Regions from separate parts of the Homo sapiens genome. Here regions 1, 2, 3, 4, 5 and 7 are each linked to region 6. Evidence: promoter capture Hi-C in human tissues and cell types (Jung and others, 2019). All regions are on one chromosome and are shown on one strand. Each heading gives the region's core, a stretch centred on a gene start or on the middle of the fragment in contact. The rest is flanking DNA. Distances are from core to core; before and after follow the strand shown.

Region 1 (3,498 bases), core at 667-3,166, 650 kb before region 6:
GGCCCAGGCTTCAAGACTTCAAGGGCAGGGAAAAAAAGTTTTTTATTTGTTAAAATTATAACAGTCCATTGAAATATAAATGTACATTCATTATTATAAAATACAACCAGCAAGTATTGGAGAAAAGGGATTAGAAGAAAACATAACACCAAAATACATTTTGTTCATTCAAATCAAACTTTAAAAGAACAAGCTTTTCATGAATACTTTTAAAAGAAAATTCGTAGCTGGGCACAGTGGCTCATGCCTGTAATGCCAGCATTTTGTGAGGCCGAGGCAGGAGGATCCCTTGATGCCAGGAGTTCAAGACCAGCTTGAGCAACATAGTAGACCTTGTCTCTACCAAAAAAAAAAAAAAAAAAAAAAACCACAATAGCGGGGCATGATATAGTCCTAGCTACTGGAGAGGCTGAGATGGGATTATAACTTGAGCCCAGGAGTTCAAGATTACAGTGAACCATGATTGTGCCATTGTACTCCAGCCTGAGCAGAAGAAGAAAATTCCTTATTGTTTTGAGTCTAGGATGCCTTTATTTTGGTTGTGATGAGACGAAAGAAAAGCTTAATAACTTTAACTTTTTGGCAACATATCATTTGCAGCATTTTGTATCACAGAGCCAGTCAAATTGCTCTCCTATGGAAGGCACCAAAAAATAAGCTTTATTTTGTATTGCAAAGTGCAATTCACCAATGACCAAGGCAGCTGACAGGGCTGCAAAATCACTGTTCCTGCGCCATAATGTCAAATCTGTAAAATTTGGCCCCACTTAAATTCTGCCAAAAAGAATAGTCACATACATCCTGCTGTGTGTGTGTGTGTGTGGTTTCTGACAACAAGCATTTATTCTCATGTTACTTGTTTGCAACTGATGTGACCTAGCTTTCACTTCCGGGTTGAAAGAACAACTGGAGTTACTTAACTCCTTCCAGGAGTTATGGAACATGCAAGTTCTTGTTCTTGTCTTCACAGTTCTGGAGGCTAGCAGTTCAAAATCAAGTTGTCAGCAGGGTTGTCCCTCCTGAGGACTTTCCCCTTGGCTTGCTGATGGCCACCTTCTCCCTATCCTCACATAGTCTTTCCTCTATCCAGGCTCATCCCTGATGTCTCTTTGTGTGTCCAGATTTCCTCCTCTCCTAAGGACACTAACCAGATTAGGTGGGGGTACCCTCTAATGGTCTCCATTTAATTTTGTCACTTCTTTAATTGCCCTATCTCAAAATACAGTCACATTCTGATGTACTGGAGGTTAAGGCTTTATCATATAAATTTTGGGAAACACATTCAGCCCACAACACTCTCCCTTGGAGGTGGCAGATGTCATGCCTGCTCAAATGCTTTGGTCAGAGCAAGTCACATGATAATGAATGGGGCTGTATAATCCTCTGAGAGGGGAGGGAGGAAATTCACTTGAGGAATAATAGTGGCTTCTACTCAAGAATAGATTTGTTTATACTTTTGCTACTCCATCTTATGCAATTTAATTAAGCATACAAACCTATCAACACACCTACAAAGTTAACAGCCAAAACACCATAGAATTTTTGTAGTTTCTATATTCACCTTGGGATGTCCAGGGATGGGGACTGCAGAGTGGTTGTAGAGGGTCTCTGACTCCATATTTATACAGGTTTTTTTGTACAGCACTTAAGTAATACATGGTTTAGCACATATATTTGTAATAATAAAATAACTCAAGAATATAGGAAAATACAAGTACACAAAAAATAACATGAGACGTCCTCCGGTGCTTACTACCAGATTAACACTTTGCCGTATTTAATCTAGATATCTCCTGAGCTCCTGTATCTTAACCTATTTCTGTATTTGATTTATCATGTATCTATTCACCTCTCCATGCCTCTTTCCATATATCAATTTACCATTTTTAAAAACACACCCCAGTGTAAGTTTGAGACATCAACACATTAGCACTAAGCACTTCGGCATACAAATCCTGAAATAAATTCAATTTTGGTTTTCATTCTTTATTCTTTTGACATAAGATTTAAATACAGTGAAGTGCACAAATCTTAAGGATGCTATTTGGTGAATTAAGATCAACATATAACATGTAACTGTCCCCCAAAGCCTACCAAGTCATGACCATCATTCCAGAAAGCTCCTTTGTGCCCTTTCACAGCCAAGCCCAACCTTCAGTCACTCAAGAGGCAATCATTTCTGAATTTTTTCATTACAGGTTTTTATTTTGCTGTTTTAGAACTTCATATGAATGGAATAATTTAGTATTTAATCCTGCCTAAGGCTCCTTTCACTCAGCATAACATTTCTTTTTTTTTTTTTTAATACTTTAAGTTTTAGGGTTCATGTGCACAACGTGCAGGTTAGTTACGTACGTATACATGTGCCATGTTGGTGTGCTGCACCCATTAACTCGTTATTTAACATTAGGTATATCTCCTAATGTTAGGAGATAACATTAGGTATATCTCCAGTATGTGATGTTCCCCTTCCTGTGTCCATGTGTTCTCATTGTTCAATTCCCACCTATGAGTGAGAACATGCGGTGTTTGGTTTTTTGTCCTTGTGACAGTTTGCTGAGAATGATGGTTTCCAGCTTCATCCATGTCCCTACAAAGTACATGAACTCATCATTTTTTATGGCTGCATAGTATTCCATGGTGTATATGTGCCACATTTTCTTAATCCAGTCTATCATTATTGGACATTTGGCTTGGTTCCAAGTATTTGCTATTGTGAGTAATGCCACAATAAACACACGTGTGCATGTGTGTTTATAGCAGCATGATTTATAATCCTTTGGGTATATACCCAGTAATGAGATGGCTGGGTCAAATGGTATTTCTAGTTCTAGATCCCTGAGGAATTGCCACACTGACTTCCACAATGGTTGAACTAGTTTACAGTCCCACCAACAGTGTAAAAGTGTTCCTATTTCTCCACATCTTCTCCAGCACCTGTTGTTTCCTGACTTTTTAATGATCTCCATTCTAACTGGTGTGAGATGGTATCTCATTGTGGTTTTGATTTGCATTTCTCTGATGGCCAGTGATGATGAGCATTTTTTCATGTGTCTTTTGGCTGCATAAATGCATAACATTTCTAAGATTTAGCCAATTTATTACATTTAGCTGATACTTCATTTCTTATTGTTGCAGAGTAGCACTTCATTGTTTGAATGTACTACAATTTATTTACCTATTTTCTTATTAATGGACACAGGCTATTTCCATTTCTTGGAAGTTATCGATAAATATGTTACAATTTTGGTAGACATATGCTTTCATTTCTCTTGGGTAAAAATTTAGGAGTTAATACCTAAAGTCATAGAGGAAGTACATGTTAAGTTTTCAGAAAAACTGCCAGATATTTTTTCCAAATTGGCTGTATAATTTGACACTCCCACCAACAATGTTTGAGAGTTCAGATTGTCTACTTCCTTGCCAGCATTAGTGTTAGTCTTTTCACTTGGGGCCATTCTGGATGGTGTATAGCAGTTTTTAATTATTTGTTAAATT
Region 2 (3,462 bases), core at 667-3,166, 910 kb after region 6:
AGATGGGAAGATCCTGAGTCCTGGAGATCATGAAAACTAGAATTGGTGACCTTAGGTGTGACCTATGGTCATAAAAGTCAAGAAATGTACAGGAGAGTAATGAGAAACATACACTACAGGTTAACTGCACTGCAGCCTAAAACACAAGGTTGCTCATGGTCTCTCCAACTGACCTCCCTTCCAACCGCAAAGCCTCTCACCCTGGACACTAGCTACTCATTCATTTATTCATTCAACAGATATCTAAGAGCCTATAGATATTTGGGATGTGGATCTGTTTGCTGCTTTTGTGGAGTTTACTGTTGGTTAAAGCAATAATGACACAATTAAATACATTAGATGCAAGTGGCAGTATGCAAATGGCTATGAAAAAAATGTAAAGGGTTTGATGAGAGCTTAGGCTAGTGGGCCTGATTTAGATGGTGCATCAGGCAAAGTCTCTTCAAAAAAGTGACATTTAGGCTGACTCCTGAGGGATGAGTATCATTTTACAAGAAATATGGGAGAAAGAATGTCCCAGACAGAAAAAACATGGTCCCAGATGGCTCTCACATGTCTGGCTTACCAGTTGTCCACTAGGATTGCAAGGGCCACTGAGCCGTATTTCTCACATTGTGCAATAATCTGGTCTGGGCTTACTCACATAGTGGGTGTGGCCGTCAGCAAGAGAGGACAAACTCCAATGTGCAAGCACTTTTCAAGTCTCTACTTGCATGACATTATCTATTTCTCATTGGCCCTAGCAAGTCAAATAGCCAAGTCCAGAGTCAATGTGAGAGAATGCTACCTAAGGGCATGGATGCTGGCAAGTGAGGACAAATTGGGCGCCAATCGCTGCAGGAAAATACCATACAAGACAAGAAGGGAGGTGCTTAGCCCACCCTGGAGAGGACGGGTTGGTCTTCCCAGAGTTAAGCAGAGTCATCCAAGTGTAACACTGAAGAATGGTTAGGAATTAGTCCCATAGGATAGGAGGCCTAATGGATAGGGGTTGTTCCTATCTCCTGTGGATAGGAGAGGAAGGAAAATATTCCCAGGATGAGCATGCTCAGAATGTTGGAAGTGAAGTCAGAAACCCATGTAAGGGAATTAAAGATGTTTGGTATTATTTGGTAGTAGAGTTAAAGTCAGAAGTGATTGGGAATAAAACTGGAAAAATAAAAAGGAACCAGGTTATAAAGAGCCTTGTAAGTCATGTAAAGAAGTTTGAGCTGTATACCGTACGTAACATTATCAAATTTATATTCTAGAACAGTAGTCCCCAACCTTTTTGACACCAGGGACCAGTTTTGTGGAAGACATTTTTTCCTATGGACCAGGGTGGGGGAAGGAGGGGTTGAGGGGGAATGGTTTGGGGATGAAACTGTTCCACCTCAGATCATCAGTCATTAGATTTTCATAAGGAGTGCACAACCTAGATCTCTGGCATGCACAGTTCACAATAGGGCCCGTGCTCTTATGAGAATCTAATGCCACTGCTGATCTGACAGGAGGCAGAGCTCAGACGGTAATGCTTACTTTTACACCACTCACCTCCTGCTGTGCAGCCCAGTCCCTAACAGGCCACGGACTGGTACCAGGGGTTAGGGACCCCTGTTCTAGAAGGATCTCCACTGTTTCAATGTAAGAGGTGGGGACACCTATTAGGAAGTGTCCCAATGCAGTAGAAAGATAATAATGGCCTCACCCGGAATAGTAGCTGTAAAGATGGGGAGAAGTGTCCCTGTTTTAGATATAATCAGAAGTAAAATCAATAGGACCTGATGGAATCACATATGTGGAAAAGTGGAAGCAAAAGATTGATTCAGATTTCTGCTTGGGAAAACTGAAAAATGGCAGTGGCATTTATTGCTAAAGGTAGCATGGGAAACCTTTAGCATATATAGTAGAATATATGGGTGGGAGATGAGTATCATTTTGGATATTTTGAATTGGAATTTCTCATGAGACAACCAATTATTTTGGAAAAAACTTAGGCATATAAGTTTGAATCTTAGCAGAGAAACAAAAGCAGGGTTATGTGAATTGTCAACATACAGCTGGCAACTACAGCCATGAGAGAAGATTAGTTCAACCAAGGTGAGTGTCTACACACAGAAGAGGGCCAAATACAGAGCCTGAAAACATAGCAGTCTTTGAGGTATAAGTTGAGTAAAATGGGCCCGCCAATGATACCGTGCCTTTACCAAAAAGGTGGTAAGAATCCAGAGGTGGCATATAACACAGGTGGCAGAGGAAAAGAACATTTCCAAAGGAAGGTGTGGGCAGCAGCATCTGATAGGGCTAATTAGTCCCATAAGGTTAAGACTCAAAGGAAAACCCCTGGGCTACAGACCTTGGGAAGACCAGCGAGGGTTGACATTTAGGGGTACCGGCAGATTGGAGTGGCTACAGAAGGACCGAGAACTGGGAAAATACAGAAAGCAAGTTAGAGAACTATTTTAACAACTTTGATGATGAAGGGGAAAAGAGAGATGCAGAACAAGTAGAAAAAGGAGTATTAAAAAATTGTTTTTTGTTTGTTTGTTTTTGAGATGGAGTCTCGCTCTATTGCCAGGCTGGAGTGCAGTGGGGCGATCTTAGCTCACTGCAACCTCCACCTCCCAGGTTCAAGCAATTCTCCTGCCTCAGCCTCCCAAGTAGCTGGGACTACAGGTGCCCGCCACCATGCCCGGCTAATTTTTTGTATTTTTAGTACAGATGGGGTTTCACCATGTTAGGCAGGATGGTCTTGATCTCCTGACCTCGTGAGCCACCCGCCTTGGCCTCCCAAAGTGCTGGGATTACAGGTGTGAGCCACCGCACCTGGCCCCAGCTTCTTTAACCTTGCAGTGTGAACTTGGAGAGAATGATGAATTGCCCAAGGAGACCCACCATCCCAGAAAAGAAAACAACCCCCTCCCTCCACTCCCAACACATCTCACCCCCCCATTATCCCTCCTGTTTTTATCACTGGAAGGCAGCCCTACAGAAACCACACAGCAGCATTAAAGGACAGGACAGGAACATTTTGTTGTAAACAGGGTACAGATGCCAAAATGTGCTAAACCCATTTGTATATAATGAATGAAGACCAGGAACAGTCGTCATTATGGCCTCTGAACACAGAAAGCAAAGAAAAGGAAGGAAGAAAGAAAAGGCTCTTCCCAATATGCGTTTGTGTGGTTTGATTGTAATGGTTGTTTCCCATTCCGGTTGTTTATGAATAATAGTGACCTTTGTTTCCTTAAAGATGAGCTGAACAAAATGATGCATCTTGAAATGATCATTCATTCTGCAGGAAGGGAACATAAGTGAAACCTAAAAGCCTGTTCGGCTGCCTTTCTTCCAATCTCCCTTTGTATTTACAGTATTTGCCAAAACATATTTAATCCTACAAAGCCCCAAGATGTATATTTTTTGGCTCATGTATAGACAGCCTTATTCTATTGGAAAAAGATGCTGTATGTCTTCCATTTCCAA
Region 3 (3,134 bases), core at 314-2,813, 700 kb after region 6:
CAACTTACAGGCTTGTTTAATCTACAGACACATTTTAGCAGGAACAATATTATTTTCAAATATCTGATTTTCTAATGTTTAAACATTCATGTAAAAATGCAATTTGGAGTTTTTAAAACAACTTCTCAATGATAATTTATGTATAGTGACAGTCAGCTGCCGCTGAATAGAGGCTGGTCCCAGTAGACAGATTGTGCATACTCCAGTAAAATAATGTACATTATCTGCCAGGCCCTAAAGAACTTGAAATCTCAACCCACTGATGCCAAAAAGTTGACAACTTTTCATTAAATTATACTCTGTTTGAGGAGAAAAGATAAATCCTTAAAACTTTAAGTTGAGATTTTACACCATAAAATAGTTTCTTCCCATCTTTACCCTTGTCATATTAACTCCCTTCTATGTTAGAATACTTCCATAAAGAACAACTGCTTCATAGGCTGGGCACAGTGGCTCACCCCTGTAATCCCAACATTCTGGGAGGATAAGCAGGGAGGATCGATCACTTGAACCCGGGAGTTCAAGACCAACCTGCACAACATAGCGAAAACTCTGTCTCTACAAAAAAATATAAAAATGAGCCAGGCATGGTGCCATGCACCTGTAGTCCCAGCTACTCCAGAGGCTGAGGTGGGAGGATCAACTGAGCCCAGGAGGTCGAGGCTTCAGTGAGCCATGATTGTGCCTCCAGCCTGGGTGACAGACAGAACGAGATCCTGTCTCAAAAAAAAAAAAAAAAAAAAAAAAAAAGAACAACTGCTCTTAAAGCAAGTAGGTCATACCCTGTGGGTTTATGTGAAGAAGCTGAGAACATCTTTAGATACTCAAAGCAACTGAGAAATGGGAAAATGTGAATGCCTGTTCTATTACATATTTGATATTCGCCTCAGGGATTATTGAACAGAGTTCAGTTGGCACTATTGGTTTACACTGATCAAAGTTAGTTAAACTGATTATGAAGCACCTTTTGACCTAATTATAACAGAGCAAATAACTTCCATACAATAAGAGGGTGACTTTGGGTGGTTGTTTGAAAACTTTTCTAACATAGATGAAATCTTTTCTCCTACAGAATCTTACATAATCTAAAATGTAAAGCAGATAAACTCAATGCTGCTGCAGTGAGGAGGGATTTCACATTCTTTTGGAACAAGTGCACAGCACTTAGGACACAAGAAGTAATTTTTTGTGTTTGTTTGTTTAAGAGACTGAGTCTCAGTCTGTCTCCCAGGCTAGAGTGCAGTGGAAAAATCATAGTTAACTGCAGCCTCAAACCTCCTGGGCCCAAGTGATCCTCCCGCCTCAGTCTCCCAAGGAGCTGGGACTACAGGCACACACCACCATGCCCACCTATTTTTTTTTTGTTTTGTTCTAATTTTTTGTAGAGACTGGGTCTCACTATGTTGTTCAAACTGGTCTTGAACTCCTGGCCTCAAGTGATCCTCCCTCCTCCCAAAGTGCTAGGATTACAGGCATGAGCCACCATGCCCAACCCAAGTAAGATTTTGAAAACCATGGAAAAAGATTGTACATTATAGTTGTAAGTTACTTTCAATTCTAAATATCTATAATTCATTGACACTAGGGTAACTCCTGTTTCTCATAAAGTCCTCTTACTAGCCATATGACCTTGGCAGGTAACTTAATGTCTCTGAGTGCTTTTTTCATACAATAGGATAATAAACGTGACTGTAATATACAGAAGAAAAGAGACATATGTGTGTGTTTCTGTGTGCATCTTGGGTCCATTCCTTCTCCATCACCAACATAATAGGTTCAGATAAGGTTGATTCCATCCCCTGATTCCAAAAGTGACACAAGACACAGGCTGAAGCTAGAAAAATCATATCTAGGAGCTGTCAGCAAAGTGCTGCTTTTCCGGGGTTGCTGAATCAATAAAATGTAGATGATCTGAAGCTATTTGCAGGCATATTTACCACTGTGTGAATAAGAACCTACCTGAGAATGATGCCAACAGAAATAAACACAGAAACAAGGAAAAAAGAGGGAAACCTTGCTGACTGTATTGCTTAAGCATCTGGATCCGCCCATGCCCAGAACTATCGCAGATTTTGTTACATTACATGAGTGAATTTATTTTCTTAATTTGGAGAGCTAGTCCATGTTGATTTTTCTTTCATTTGCAATCAAAAAAGGCTAATAACAGGATCTTAACTATTAGGTAGCTCTCTTAAGAGTGAAGCAAGTAATGGAGATGGAAGCAATGTGTATTTTAAGTGCTAGCTTTGTTTTCCTCAGATTAGGTATTTTATGACCCATTATCCTAACTCAAAGCGAATTTGTATCTATTACCATCAAATTTTACAAATATTACTATTTCTGATTCAAGATGAGTAAAACAACTTGTGTCTACTTCTTAGTTATCTGTTTTTGTTCACAGGTCATACTTATTTCATCTTCTACTAAGCCTTTAATGTGTAACTATTTCCAAACAGCAGCAGTTCTCCCAATTATGCTGTGAAAATTCACTACCAATGTTTGCCATCAGCAAGTAAATCACAGATGACAGATCATTGGAATTTTTCAGATTACTTTTGATTTTCTGAATGCCACGGCCCTCTCCATTTCTAGACTGTGAATGGGTTTATGTTAGTATTCTAATGTATTGTAAAACATAGAAATGGACAAGATCAAGAAGAAAAGCTTGGGATGTAGGACTAGAAAAACACTAAGAAAAAGTTTGATTACCTCAAGGGTAGAGAGAGAACAGTGAAGAGTATTTGAAAAGTAGAAACCTAGTGTTATCATAGAAACTATGGGAGAAGACTTGCGAGTATTTCAAAAGTTACATAAAATAGAGAGAGATGAAGATGGGAAAATGTCCACTGAAATGGTGATCTAAGCTAGAGCATTTTCAGTACAGTTACGGAGGTGGAACTAGATTCAATGGAAAAAAGAATGAAGGAGAGAAGGAAGTGGAGGTAGTGATTACTGACTATTTGTTGAACGTCTGCAGATGGGAAAGAAGGCTAAGTTAAAAGGAATTTTTTAAAAAAATTAATGAACTGATGGAAATTGACCCACTACCATATATTAATCTACTTTCTTACACGTCGTGCAATTAAGTTAAAAACTGAAACATCGATACAGCCTCTGGATTGTTCTGATAATTC
Region 4 (3,320 bases), core at 699-3,198, 840 kb after region 6:
GATAGATAGATAGATATGGAGATAAAGCTTCCCTGTGGAGTCTTATTTCCCTCTTTGTCCCATCACAGTGGGTGTCACCATGTCAGCCTGCCATCCCTGTCCTTTGGGCTGTGTCAACCTATAATAAGAACATCTGGATGCGTCAGGCATGACCAGACCCTGCCATAGATGCACGGGAACCCTCGGGAGGGCAAGCCTGGCAGTGCTGTGGGAACATGTGGCTCATTTTTTTCTGAGAGGGCAAAGCAGAGCCACTGGGTGACTTGCAGCATTTTAAAATGAGAGAATGTCTCTTTTGCTCTGACTTACACTGCTAACTGCATCTCCCTCTCCATCTCAGTAGGACTCAATCATACACAGATGCTCCCCAACTTACAATGGGATTATGTTCTAACAAACCCATCATTAGATGAAAATGTCCTAAGTCAAAAACGCATTTAATACATCTAACCTACTGAACAGAGTAGCTTAGCCTAACCTATCTTAAACATGCTCAGAACACTTACAGTAGCCTACAGTTGGGCAAAATCATCTAACATGAGCCTATTTTATAATAAAGTATAGAATACTTCATGTAATTCACCAAATATTCAAATACAGCTTCTGCTGAATGCATATCACTTTTGCACCATCCTGAAATCCAAAAATCCTAAGTCAAACCATGGTAAGTCAGGAACCATCTGTATTTATGGGAACCTAGTTTGAAAAACTAATGTCAGTGAAAAATATTACAACAGCCCATGAATTTTGCATCCATCCTGAGGAGGAAGGTAAACTGGTCCCCTAGAATAATTTCCCCAATTCTTCCTTATGTGTCTCATCAGATCCTGAAGTATCAGGGGTTCAGGGAGACTCACATCTCAGTTATTCAAACAAGCCCAGGTAAATTTTCCCCAGGCTCAAGCCAAAGCTTGCCTCTTAAAAACTGCTAAAAAAAATCTAAAATTCATTTCTAGGACCAAACACATACAAGGAATTCTGATTTGCATGAGAGAGAGTACAATTCACCCTCAACCAACCCAGCACAGAGATGTCTTTCAACACCAACGCACTTTAACATGTATACCCCACTCACTGTTTAATTCCTGTACCCAGAGTCATACAGTTCTGTCATCATAGAAAACACCTCTGGGCAAACTAATTTTTCTTGAAGCCCAGCAAATAGTAACAACCTCCCACACCCTTTCAAAGACCTGCTCAACAGGCAGGTTTTTGTTGCGTGAAGTGGGAGTAGTGGTTGACTATGCAAGCATCATCAACCTTCACGATGCACAATCTAAGCTTGTGGTGGATCAATGTAGCCCCCAAACACCTCCATAATAGTGATAATTGTAACAGCTCTGTATAATACAACATAGTTTTCAAAATAAATGAGAGATATGCTGAGACAAAATACGAGAATGCTGAGACATGGGTTAGGTTATTTGTCCAAGGCAAGCTGGGATGCAAAGCAAAGTCTGGGTGCTTGCCATTTATTCACTGTTCTCCCCATTCCCCTCCCACCTCCTTCTATCTTCTATTGAAATTACAATTTCAGGCCTGGCCCTGATTTCTACTTTGGGAGGATCCCATGGTTTTGTACTTTTAGCACTAATTTTTCAATGTAGGTTTCCTAATCATTTACCCTGAGTGATTCAAAAGAAACATAAGGTAGATTCTTACCTTTGAAAAGCTTTCCCAAATGTCCATTAATGATAGACTGGATTAAGAAAATGTGGCACATATACATCGTGGAATACCACGCAGCCATAAAAAAGGATGAGTTCATGTCCTTTGTAGGGACATGGATGAAGCTGGAAACCATCATTCTCAGCAAACTATCGCAAGGACAAAAAACCAAACACCGCATGTTCTCACTCATAGGTGGGAATTGAACAATGTGAACACTTGGACACAGGAAGGGGAACATCACACACCAGGGCCTGTCGTGGGGTGGGGGGAGGGGGGAGGGATAGCATTAGGATATATACCTAATGTAAATGATGAGTTAATGGGTGCAGCACACCAACATGGCACATGTATACATATGTAACAAACCTGCACATTGTGTACATGTACCCTAGAACTTAAAGTATAATAAAAAAAAAAAAAGAAAATCTTTCAGTCTAGTTGAGGCTGTGACCAATGTCCAAGAAACAAACTGAGAGTAACGTTTATTGACATCAGTGTGGGCCAGCAGAAATAGGCATTTTAAAAAGGAGAGGTCACTGCCAGAAGGAGACACTTTAAGAAAATAAATCTCTTGTGTTTCTCTTTTTACCTTAGTTTCCAGAAAGCTCAAAACCAGATCTGAAGTTTAATTATCTCAATTTATAATTTCCCTTGAAGTATACATAGCTGTGATATTTTCATGCTCTCACGGCACTAGGGTGTGGCGGGGCAGGGTAATTTGTTATTTCTATTTTATATCTTTGCTGTTATTTTTTCTACTGACATCATAATGAAAATATCTGAGATAAAAGCTAATAATAATATTATAATAATAAACTAAAACTGTTAAGGAATACCCATTATAAATTTATATATACTTATACTAACTTATAAAATTTTTGCAACAACTTGTAAAAGTGAATACACCACAAAGTCTGACAATTAGGCAAAAGCATAGACTAGAAATTAAGTTAAGAAGCAACAGCAAATTATTCCAAGTGCTTGAAGTTAGCTGATTACTATAATCGACCATAATTTTTTTTCTTTAAATTTGATAACAACTGATATGTGGGAAGAAGGAGAAAAATAAACAAATACATTATATTTATTTTCTGATGAAAGACCACATGCCAACGTGACCAGTTCATACTAAGCTCAGCAGAAAAGCTTTGAGCATGTATTGAGTGCCCAGGACATATGCATAAATAAAAAAGGTTAATTTCCATAGTAAAGTGTTTCCCATGCAAATATGGGCAAAAGTTATATTGAGGTAATTCACAGACATACCAAAAGCCGGCTAATATATTAAAATATGATCTGCTTTATTGGTAATCATAGAAATTTAAAATAAAATAATTAGAAATCAATTTTACCTAGTAGATTGACAAGAAATTTAAGGATTGTTAATATGTTAGTAAATGTTGTGAAGAAAGGGTCACTTACTTTCATTGTTAGTAAAAGTATAAACTAATTCAATATTCTGGAAGGTGATTTGACATCCATTAGAATTTACAAGGTGCATCCACTTAGATGAGTAATTCAACTTCAATTCATCTGTGAAATCTCTCCTACCAAAATAATTGCACTTGGGCACAAAGATGTTCATTGCAGTATTGCTTATGATAGCAAAAGTTGGAAAGGATAGAAATCTCCATCAAGTCATTTCATAG
Region 5 (3,363 bases), core at 751-3,250, 820 kb after region 6:
ATTACCTTAGATAAATCACCAAGAGCCAACTGAAGTTTTTTTTTAAATGCTAAGTCTTTATTATAAAAATGTCTGCTACATTTAAAATAAATAAACACAACATACACATTAAAGCCAGAATATTAAACAGAATCTTTTTATTTTACTTTGGACAGCACAAAGTTTTCTAAACTGTTATATGTTGAACATATCAGCAGTTGTTTTTGGTAACTTCTGAAGTGAACCAAGAAAAGTCAATTTTAAAAATATAAATATTTTGACAAGCTACCACTAGTGTTCTTTTTTTTATTTTATTATTATTATACTTTAAGTTTTAGGCATGTGCACAATGTGCCGGTTAGTTACATATGTATACATGTGCCATGCTGGTGTGCTGCACCCATTAACTCGTCATTTAGCATTAGGTATATCTCCTAATGCTATCCCTCCCCCCTCCCCCCACCCCACAACAGTCCCCAGAGTGTGATGTTCCCCTTCCTGTGTCCATGTGTTCTCACTGTTCAATTCCCATCTATGAGTGAGAACATGCGGTGTTTGGTTTTTTGTCCTTGCGATAGTTTACTGAGAATGATGATTTCCAACTTCATCCATGTCCCTACAAAGAAATTATGGCTCTAACTTGATCGAGCTCCAAAGGGGCTTCAGTTAAAGTTAATCTCTCTTTGCAGGATTTAAAAATTAATGTTCACCAGACTTCTTGCCAACTCCACAGGAAGGAGTAACTTAAAGTCCAAAAATATTCTTAACATTAGATTCAAGTTACATGTCAATCTGAATGGAGTGAATATAATAAACCAGCAAAATTGAACCTGAATTGCCTAAGAGAATCTGTAGATTCACTAAGGAATTCTACTCCACATTGTCATCATAATTGAGATTTAGAGATTCCTATTAAGGGCAAAACAAGACAAGATTTCAGAATCATGACACTGAAAAGTGCTTCTATTGATCAAGAATGGGATTGAAGATTACTAAAATTGAAATAATATCAAATGGTTATGAACTTCTGAATCTACCCAACTAAACCCTCCTACTCTCTTAAAGAAAATAGTGGATGGCTACATATTTGGATGGTGATTAACCTTTTATTTCTTCCTTCTTTCAAATTATATCCTAAAATACTTCTGCTACTTCTACAATATTTTTTTGCTTGTGATACTAAAAGTTCCTATTTCAGTTTCTTCTTCAAATTACAAACCTCCTCATTCTGCTTTAGTCATCCAGAAAAAAGTATTGATGTATTGGGCACTCACTCTATGCCAGACTTTTCTCTTTTTTCTTTTTTTGCTAGATTCAATATATTTCAAAAGACAACCTATTTCTGCTGCCAGTGTTTATTGGTATATTGTAAAGAAAACATGCATTTACACAAATACACTCTCACACATATACAGTAATATGTGACAAATGCTAACTTGTATTCCTCATAGAGGTTTTCTCTGACCTTTTTATAAGGCAACCACCACCCCTCTGCCCTTCTTGAAAAACACCATTAGCCACACTTCTACGAGATTAATACTAATCAGACCTGTAGCCATTTTTAGGGCTTAAAGTTTACATCAACCCCAGGGAGGACACAGTGGAAACAGTGGGTGGAGGGGAGTGATATAAAAGAAATCAAGGCATCACCGAGACCAACATCAAGAATTTTATTTTTATTTTTATTGAGGATGGGGGAAAACTGGAGATAGGTTGATAAATCTGTTTCATGTGGCTTTACCTTCCAAACTTCAGAGACTGAGATTTGTATTCAAACAAGCCTCAGTTCAAATTCTGTCCTTATGAGTACTACAATCTTTAAAAAAAATTTTATTCTCTTAAGCTTCAATTTTTCTCACTTGTCAAGCTGAGATAATAGTACTTGCCACGCAATGCCAAAACCCCCAAAATTGAGATAATACATGTAACAGACTTAGTGAGATTCCTGGCATGTAATAACTATGTTGGAAATGGTAGATAACGGTTATGATTATTCATGGCGGTTACCAAGTATTTATTCATCCATTCAACAAAGAATAATTAAGCTTATACTAATGTATTTTCTCAATTCTGAGACCAATCTTTTTTCACATTTCAGCAATCAAAGCGCATTTAATATACATAATGGCTTTTTTCTTCTGCAAAGATGTCTATTAATTTGCTAATGTATCATAAAGTGACAATGTCCTAGGTCTAGCCACCATGCTAGAAAGTGGAGGGTGACAAAAATAAGTAAGAAAGCCCCTGCCCTTTTTACAGACCGTGATACCCGGCAGAGAAGCCACATGACTTCAGCCTTCAGCTTCAAAATTCTGAGCTACCACTACATACTTCCATATGCTGTCCCAATTGTTCCAAAAACTGGGGGTATCACAGACCGCTTTGAGAATGTCATGAAAGTTGTGGGCTTTCTCTACAGGACAAAAGTACACATACATATGAGTTTTACAGAGAATCTTAGGAGTTTTGTAGACTCTCCAAAGACAATCCATGGTGTTCCCTAAAAGAATTTATAAAATGTATGTAAGAATCCCTGCTTGCCCTCTTAGGAAAATTCCCCAGTTATTCTGCAGGTCACTTCTATGATACTCCAACCCCTGGAGTTTAAGCATAAGTATGCCCTGAAGATGAGGAGTGGAGTGCAAAGCTAAGAATCACTGGCTCAGAGAGTCCTTGACAACAGTTTATGTTGGGCTGGTAGCCAAAAGAATTCAATATAACAAGAGAGAAAAGGGGGTTTACATCAGCCTTAGGAAAAACAATGTACAACTCATTACTTTCTTTATTCATTTAGCACAAGTCAACCAACCACAGTATCAATGTTTGATTTACTCTCCCACTATGATCACCCATCTTCATAGCCTCATGGTCACTGCTCCAAATCTAGACTTGTGGTTTGGCTGCATCTCAAGACTTGAACCATAAATGTCAATATAAATGCACATTTTCTAGAAGGATGACAAAATTCAAAACATTCTATTTTCAGGAAAATAATGTGCAAACATATCATTATAATATCCTTTTATCTACAATTTATAAAACTCTGGTCAAAATGTTTGTCTAAAAAAATTCCTGGCAGGATGCTGATATGAGCCTCCAGGCTCTCTCTTCTTTAACATAGGCAATTCATCAGGCTACACACAAAAGCACCCAAAAGTCTGCAATGGTTCTCTTTAAATAAAGGCTTGAAGCACGCAGGGGCCTTTTGTAGAAAGAGAAATAGAGGAGATCCCCAAGGTCGGGGTGCTGTACACAGAAGAAGGATCTTAAAGCAGGAACAACTCATTTGTGACATGGTCATTGCAAGGTCAGAAACGAATAAAGCCAGAAACCAAACCTGGACTCCAATGTCTAATTATTAAATACAATCAAGAGGAATGAAAA
Region 6 (3,379 bases), core at 339-2,838:
CTTCCCTCCCACCTCCACCCCAGCTCCCACAGGCCCCTCGCCCCGTTCATCGGCTGGGCGCTCGAGACGGCGCCCCCAGATCTCCCACCGGGCAGTGTCCCCAGCTGCAGCTGAGGAGAGAAGCGCCGGCGTGCGCGGTGCCACGTCGGAATTGGCTCTGGGGACGCCGCAGCTGCCGAAGCGCAGCGCGCGGTCCCCACGCACGCCCTGCCTCCGGGCGGCCGGCGGGCTGGCCCGGCGAGGAGAGGAGGGATGCGCGCCCTCCTCCCGCTCCTATCTGCGGGTGCCACCGCCTGCGTCAGGGACCCCTGGCCCGAGTAAGCCCAGACTGACGAGCCTGACACTTTAATGGGGTGCGGGAAGTGCAAAGGAGGGGAGGCCCGGGAAAGGGGGGAGTGGCCGAGAGGGGATGGTAGCTGCGAGGAGGTAGAGAAGGACCCTCCTTCTCCAGGGTCCCAGCTTGTCGGAGCTGGAAGCCCAGATTGCTTAACCCTTTGCATTCCCAGCAAGAAGCGACTTTTTCACTTAGAAGTAAAACGCGCTGGGCTATTCCAGTTTTTCTCCCCACAGTGTGTGTGTGTGTGTGTGTGTGTGGGAAAAAAAGAAGGGAAGGGGTGGGGCGGCTGTGCAGAATGCATTTTCCTTACATTGGGAATTCTTGTTTCCTAACTCTGGAGCCCCTCTGCTGCTCCGGAAGATGCAAAATGGAAAAGTACATCTGAGGACGTGCAGCCTTTCCCAGGCAGAGAGGCTACCTGTGTCCCCAGAAAGGCAGCGGATTTCTGGCGAGAGCCGCAGAAATGGGAAAAGAGGGCTATGTTGCTAAGCCTGACAGTGACCTGAAATATTCCCTGATCTTCAGTCTGTTGGAAATTTTTAAACTTCCAACTTTTCTATCGAAACTGGCTTAAAAATTTTAAAACAATTATAAGGATGTCTTCCTTCTCCCTGGCCTGTTGGAGGACCTTCATCCTTCACCAAAACGCGCCAGTGTAACGTACCTTGTTCAGCTCTTGGTCATAAAGTCGTCCTCAGCCTGTCTGTGTGGTCCCGGAGGGTCGGTGGCGGGCAGTTTCCAAAATTGAGGTAATAAGAGATCAGATGAATTTGAGACGACCGGCCAAAAAAAATAAGAAATTTAAAAACAACATTTAAAAAGGATAGGGGAGTCTTAAATGTTTGATTCTTCCCCACTTTAAAAAATAATTTCACTAATATTCTCTTTATGTTTCCGTTGCACTTCAGTCTAATTCTTAAAAAAATTATGCTTTAAAAATAAATTAACTTTTCTTTTTTCTTTTCTTTTCTTTTTTTTTTTTTTTTTTTTTTGGGCTTCAGTCTTTCTGCCCCCGATAACAGAAAATCTCTTTTTCGTCTTAAAAAAAAAAAAAAAAAAAAAAAAAGCCTGTGGAAGACTCAGCAGAACCCAGGAAGCGCAGAATTGGGAGAAAAGTCTTTGGCTGGGGCTGTTTCAAGTCTCTGGTTCAATGGGCTGCTCGAAGCCAGGACTGGGTAATTCTTTCCAGACGTCTTGACTTCTCCTTCCCCGCCGTTGTTGCCCTTCTGCCTCCTCCAACTTAAGGGGGTCTTAACAAGTGAGCTGGTGGGTGTTTTAATAGGGCGGCGGAGGGAGTGGGGGGGTGAGGGAAGTGGAGAGGGAGGTGTGGACTGGGGAACCCTGAGGGGAGGGAACTGGGAGCGCGGGCGGGCGGGCGAGCGGGAGGCGGGGAGGGGGAGAGGGAGAGAGAGAAATTGGCCATTCAAAGCCTTCTCTGAGCTACAGGCCGGTTCTAAACTCCAATGAATTCAATTAACTTGATTGCTAACGTGTGCAGAGAAATGCAAGACACATAGGGGGCCACCACCTGATTCCTTACTTTCCTCTGGCGGCGGAGGTGGGAGCCCTCGCCTCTTGGATTTCCCTGAACTCCCGCGTTACAAGTTCCCTCCAAGCGATAAACTCCCTGTGGCGCTGAAGTAATTTGTTTTAAAGCCAAATGGTGCCCTTCAGCTAAGTAACCGACCCAAGGAGGAACAGTTGGGAGGGGTGTGTGCACGTGTGTGTGTGTGTGTGTAAGTGTGTGCGTGTGTGTGTGTACCTGGAGCCTTCGACAGCCGGCTGGGACTCTAAAAAGATCGCGCTGGTCCACCACTTGTTAACCCTTTCTTCCCGCCAACTCAAAAGTTTCTGAGCTGACGTCAAGTGTCAAAGCCTTTCTCATAAAGAGGTTTCTGCCGTGGGTGGGCGGAAAACATAGAAAAGTAATTATATGTATATTTTTGCTCAATCTGGTCCCCTAACGTAAACATACTCAAACAGCGCGCATTAAAAATAAAATAATAAAAATTGTTTTCTGGAGGACTTATATTTAGCCATCTTGAAGGAAATGGCTTAACTGGCTTTTGCTTTTTGCAAGCCTTCTGCAAAGTTGACGAGGACAAATATGTCTTGCTTGGAGATGGCCTTTCCTCGTCGTTTTCACAATGCCCCAAGGCTGGGTAGAGTTCGTTTTTTGGTTACTCCTCCCCCCACCACTCCGCCTCCTTTCTTTCTCTTGGACCTTGCCAACAAGCCTGCTGATGACTGAAAATGGACAGTAGGTGGCACTGTTGAGGAAAAAATGAGAGTGACTTTACAAATTAACCAACTTGGTCTTGGGAGATTGCGCTGAAATTGTTATAGGGTAAAACAGATTTTTCTTTCTTTCTTTTTTCCTTCTTCCCCTTCCAAGGATCTTCTGAGGGGTGGACTTCTTTGGAACTCGACAGGACCTTGAAGACTGGGTTCTTAGTCCTTATCACATATATGGGCTATAATGAATAAGTCTAAACAGAAAAGTCGAATAAACTGGAAATGATGCTTTCATCACGTCGCACAAGGTGTAGTGTTGGGGGATGTGATTAGGGGTCAAGCATTTTAGTGCAATACCAGGTAGTCAGCCATCCCAGTCCCCAGGGGCTGACCTGCAAAGTACTGCGCGTTTCCGCCCCCTTCCCCCCGCCCCCCCCCGCCACGCCACACACACACACAGCGGTTACACCTCTGGGAAGCATTACCTTGGCCTGATGACTTCACGCTGCTCAGGGGACCCCACTGATTTCCCCCAGCAAACCTTCCTGCTTCAGCCTTTGTTTGAACTCCGCCTTAGGTGGTTCAACTCTTGGAGAGACTGGCTTAAATTTCAGATCACAATTTCATCCCACTTAATCAGACTCGAGCTTCCTGATTCAGTTTTTTGGTAGTTTTCAAATGCTAAACTATAATTTTAAATATATCACCTAACTTCTGTACTCTGACATATAACGTGGATTAAACTGATTTAGAGGTAGAGTGGAAATTGTGGGGTGCCAAGTGTCTAGCTGTGAGGCCCCAGGGGGA
Region 7 (3,572 bases), core at 843-3,342, 800 kb after region 6:
GATAAGTAAGTTGCTTAGCGTAACACAGATAGTGATGGAGGCAGTTTTCTAATACAGGCAGTCTGTCCTACAGCCTGGCTTTTGACCACTGTGTTGGTACTTCCGAATTTATGAGTCTTATGTAAATGCCTTTGGTTTCCTCATGTGTAATATGGTATTAACAACCACCTTTCAGGGAAAACTTACAGCCAACTCTCAATGGCCTTTGCAAAGGAGAATCCACTTTGAACATTCGGTAACTTTGCTATAGTATTTTATCAGTTATGTACAGGAGTGCAAGGGGTGACACAGCTGTCTGAAAGAAGATCCTACGTGAAGCTGGTTACTCCTTTTCATCTAAAGCATTCCCACTCTCCTGTGTAATTTAGACACCAACATTAAAATAGTGTTACGCCCAAAGGCACATTACAAATTACCTAAAAGCACATTGCAACATGCCATTTAAAATTTAAATGAAACACTATAATCTCCAATCAAAGTAGTTTAATATTAGGAATTGTGAAGTTTGGGAGCTGATGCATAATGAAGGAATTGAGGGTCCTTTTACCAGCAGCTGTTCTAGCAAGGCACCCCATGATAAACACCTAAAAATCAGGCATATGAGCTGCCTGCTCAAACTGGGGTAACAGCTGGACAAGCCACCAGGGAAATGGAAAGGCAATAAACCAAATAAGCTTGATTTATTTTTATATCTCCCCAGGGCTCTGTATATTTTAGGGTTCATATTTTGCCTTCCAGGTGCATTTGGCTAACATCTTTGAGTCTAATCTTCGAATCCACTCTGGTCTTACCTTCTTCCTTATTTCCATGCTACCTTTACCTCCAGTCTGTTTAGCATTACCCTCCTGACCTTACGCTGATTGTCTTCGATTAAGCCTAAGGATTTCCTCTTCCTGGACCAAAGTCAGGTTACAGAGCAGGAATAATAAAAGACTGAATGGAACCGTAGTGTCATAGCCAGAACCCCAATGTCAACCTTTTGAAAACAACCTGACTGCAGATACCCCATCCCACTGGGAGATTCAACACAGCGGCATTGCAATCCACCAGTTTCAGAGAATTGGCATCTGTGCCAAGGAATGTTTTTTCTAGGAATCTGGTTTCTCATTAAAAGAATTGGGCGGAGGGAACCAAGAAGAAAAAAATGCTAAGTTAAATCAAAATATGATATGAGTTCTTAAAAAAATCAACTCTGATTAATCATACTACAAGGTGATTTAATATGTTTGGAAGAAATTCAGAGCAAGTGAATTCACCAGCACTTTCAACAAATATGTACTCTAAAAAATAATTAATGCACAGCACATAAGTTAGGAATGTTTAAGAGGCTCCATGATATTCACCTTAATAGGTATAAAATGCACATGTGTACAGAATAAAAGAAATAATTGTAATGAGAGTCACTTATTGTCATTGAAAGTAGAATCTTATCTATATTTTAATACAAAAACAAGCATGGTAAAACATCTGTGCTTTACCAAAGGCAATGAAAGGCTAAGAAGGCAATATTTTAAACAATGCACATTTGGATTTTTTGTATAACACTCTCAACTATCTCATCAGTAAAAATCCTCAGAACATGCCTGGGAAATAGGTAAACAATACAGAATAGTTTCTACTGCAAAATTAAATCCTATCCTTGTAATCATAACTCTCTCCCCTCCCCCACCTCCATAATCAAATAGCCATGGAAAGCCTGAGGATGAGGAGTTGAGAGCAGGAAGGAATGATGGCAGAACAGCAGCAACCTTTAGACCAGTAAATAAGTATGGGTGACTTTCGCTCATCAACATCTTATTTTTTTTTTTTTTTTTGAGACAAAGTCTTGCTCTGTCGCCCAGGCTGGAGTGCAATGGCGCAATCCCGGCTCACTGCAACCTCCACCTTCTGGGTTCAAGTGATTCTCCTGCCTCAGCCTCCCTAGTAGCTGAGATTACAGGTGCACACCACCACACGTGGCTAACTTTTATGTTTTTAGTAGAGACAGGGTTTCACCATAATGGCCAGACTGGTCTCAAACTCCTGATCTCAGGAGATCCGACTGCTTCAGCTTCCCAAAGTGCTGGGAATACAGGCATGAGCCACTACATCTGACCTGCTTATGAACATTTTATATGCAGATCTTTCCCCATTCTTTCATTCATTCCAACACATTAGGCCACCTACCACCTTCATGCCCTTACCCTTTGCTGCTCATCTCAGCATCATCCCAGTCCTAACACCACATATGTAAATAAACTGAAAATGTAACCAATTTCTTTGTTGCCAAATAAGTATATATTTAGCTTCAGCTATGACTTATTCTGCCCATCCTGTACAGTTCCTGTGATAAACCAGGCCTTCCCAAGCAATATGGCCCTAGACTGCAGTACCTCGCCACTACTAATGGTGTCAACACACTCATCTGTGGCATTCCTGCAGGTTGTGTCTGTTTGACTGCTTTGTGCCTACTTACCCGATGCATTGGCCTTCCCTGCTTTGGCCCTACTTTGTCAACCCTCTTTCTTAACTGCTGGACAGGCAGCCTGATTTTGAACGTATTATACTGACTTGGACCCTGGCACCTTTTCAGTAGACAACTTCCAATCTGCGCCTTTACAGGATGAGAGGCAGTCTATCCCCATGCCAGTCCTGCCCTGTGCACTACTATCAAGCAGGCTTTTCCTCACCAAGGCACTGTCCAACAAAGGAAAGAGATTGGGTACAAATGTTGAATCTTACGGCTATAAGAAATACTCTTTGCAATGGACTGAACTTTTCAGTTTCCGATAAAGCTGCTTGGTATCATATAGTTCATACCTAACCACTAGTCTAGAGTCAGGAAAACATATCTTTACCAATCCATTTGCCCTTACTTCTGTGGTAGGAATTCTGTATTTGCATTTGTATCCTCTTCCACTTTCTCCTGGCTTCTAGCCCACACATTCAGATGGTTTAATTGCAATATTGGTAGAGTTTGTTTAAATTTTACTCAAGAGTTGAAACATGTGCACTTGTCTAACTTCACGTGAAAGCAGAAATATGAACAAATATTAAAATTGATTTGCAGCCTAACAGAGCCAACCTGTCTCAATAAGTAGATTATTTTAAAACTTTCCAATGTTCAGTTTAAAAGACCCTTGTATTTTGAAGCCTTTTTAATCTTTCCATTTTGAATTCTTTCTTCATCTTTTTGTTTACCTCAAAGAGTCCAGGAGGTCAATTCATTTGGATGGATGGATAATGAAATTAATAGACAATTGCTAAAAACAAACTCTCAGGTACCTCTGCACAATTTCTTCATTATCACTAGGGTAACATGAAAACATGTACAGTGTACTCTATAATGTACAGCTTTGCCTTGTCAGGATAACTATACACCTTTACTCCACCATCTAGATGGTATAGTGTGAGCTTCCATAGTTAAAGGGTGGATGCCTAGCCACCTTGGGGGCAAGTCATAATTACCTGCCTCACCACTTCCATTCCCTCAATCACAGTTCACTGGTCAATGGGTGGACACCAATCCCAAGTTAGACCAATAATCTCAAGTCTTTTCTTGAGATTTCAACTGGAAGTGAAGGATTATTCCT

What was found. The method cuts DNA at HindIII sites, captures the fragments that hold promoters and counts their contacts. A contact is called where the count stands out against the background at its distance.
Region 1: a contact is called between a fragment that was not itself captured here and the fragment with the promoter of HAS2 in region 6, in 2 of the 25 tissues and cell types used here (mesenchymal stem cells and spleen).
Region 2: a contact is called between a fragment that was not itself captured here and the fragment with the promoter of HAS2 in region 6, in 1 of the 25 tissues and cell types used here (dorsolateral prefrontal cortex).
Region 3: a contact is called between a fragment that was not itself captured here and the fragment with the promoter of HAS2 in region 6, in 1 of the 25 tissues and cell types used here (lymphoblastoid cells).
Region 4: a fragment that was not itself captured here is called in contact with the fragment with the promoter of HAS2 in region 6 in 3 of the 25 tissues and cell types used here (aorta, dorsolateral prefrontal cortex and spleen).
Region 5: a fragment that was not itself captured here is called in contact with the fragment with the promoter of HAS2 in region 6 in 3 of the 25 tissues and cell types used here (dorsolateral prefrontal cortex, mesenchymal stem cells and mesendoderm cells).
Region 7: a contact is called between a fragment that was not itself captured here and the fragment with the promoter of HAS2 in region 6, in 2 of the 25 tissues and cell types used here (IMR-90 fibroblasts and stomach).

Annotation. Positions count from the first base shown.
Region 1 is chr8:120,994,503-120,998,000 of GRCh38, forward strand. No RefSeq gene overlaps it. Among named protein-coding and RNA genes, the nearest start is that of SNTB1, 180 kb to the left of the region's middle. The HindIII fragment of the contact is 4,581 bases long and covers 1-3,498 here.
Region 2 is chr8:122,552,138-122,555,599 of GRCh38, forward strand. All of the region lies in intron 2 of SMILR (smooth muscle induced lncRNA, enhancer of proliferation), which reads right to left. Among named protein-coding and RNA genes, the nearest start is that of SMILR, 15 kb to the right of the region's middle. The HindIII fragment of the contact is 4,063 bases long and covers 1-3,462 here.
Region 3 is chr8:122,341,122-122,344,255 of GRCh38, forward strand. The region is part of intron 1 of LOC105375733 (a long non-coding RNA gene); the gene reads right to left. Among named protein-coding and RNA genes, the nearest start is that of SMILR, 230 kb to the right of the region's middle. The HindIII fragment of the contact is 6,009 bases long and covers 1-3,134 here.
Region 4 is chr8:122,475,155-122,478,474 of GRCh38, forward strand. All of the region lies in intron 2 of SMILR (smooth muscle induced lncRNA, enhancer of proliferation), which reads right to left. Among named protein-coding and RNA genes, the nearest start is that of SMILR, 92 kb to the right of the region's middle. The HindIII fragment of the contact is 4,576 bases long and covers 1-3,320 here.
Region 5 is chr8:122,456,843-122,460,205 of GRCh38, forward strand. The region is part of intron 2 of SMILR (smooth muscle induced lncRNA, enhancer of proliferation); the gene reads right to left. Among named protein-coding and RNA genes, the nearest start is that of SMILR, 110 kb to the right of the region's middle. The HindIII fragment of the contact is 5,362 bases long and covers 1-3,363 here.
Region 6 is chr8:121,639,852-121,643,230 of GRCh38, forward strand. It overlaps HAS2 (hyaluronan synthase 2), which reads right to left and starts at 1,589. Exons shown (of 4, transcript NM_005328.3): 1 at 1,002-1,589. It also overlaps HAS2-AS1. RefSeq lists enhancers at 1-46, 2,248-2,871. The HindIII fragment of the contact is 13,134 bases long and covers 1-3,379 here.
Region 7 is chr8:122,435,629-122,439,200 of GRCh38, forward strand. All of the region lies in intron 2 of SMILR (smooth muscle induced lncRNA, enhancer of proliferation), which reads right to left. Among named protein-coding and RNA genes, the nearest start is that of SMILR, 130 kb to the right of the region's middle. The HindIII fragment of the contact is 9,762 bases long and covers 1-3,572 here.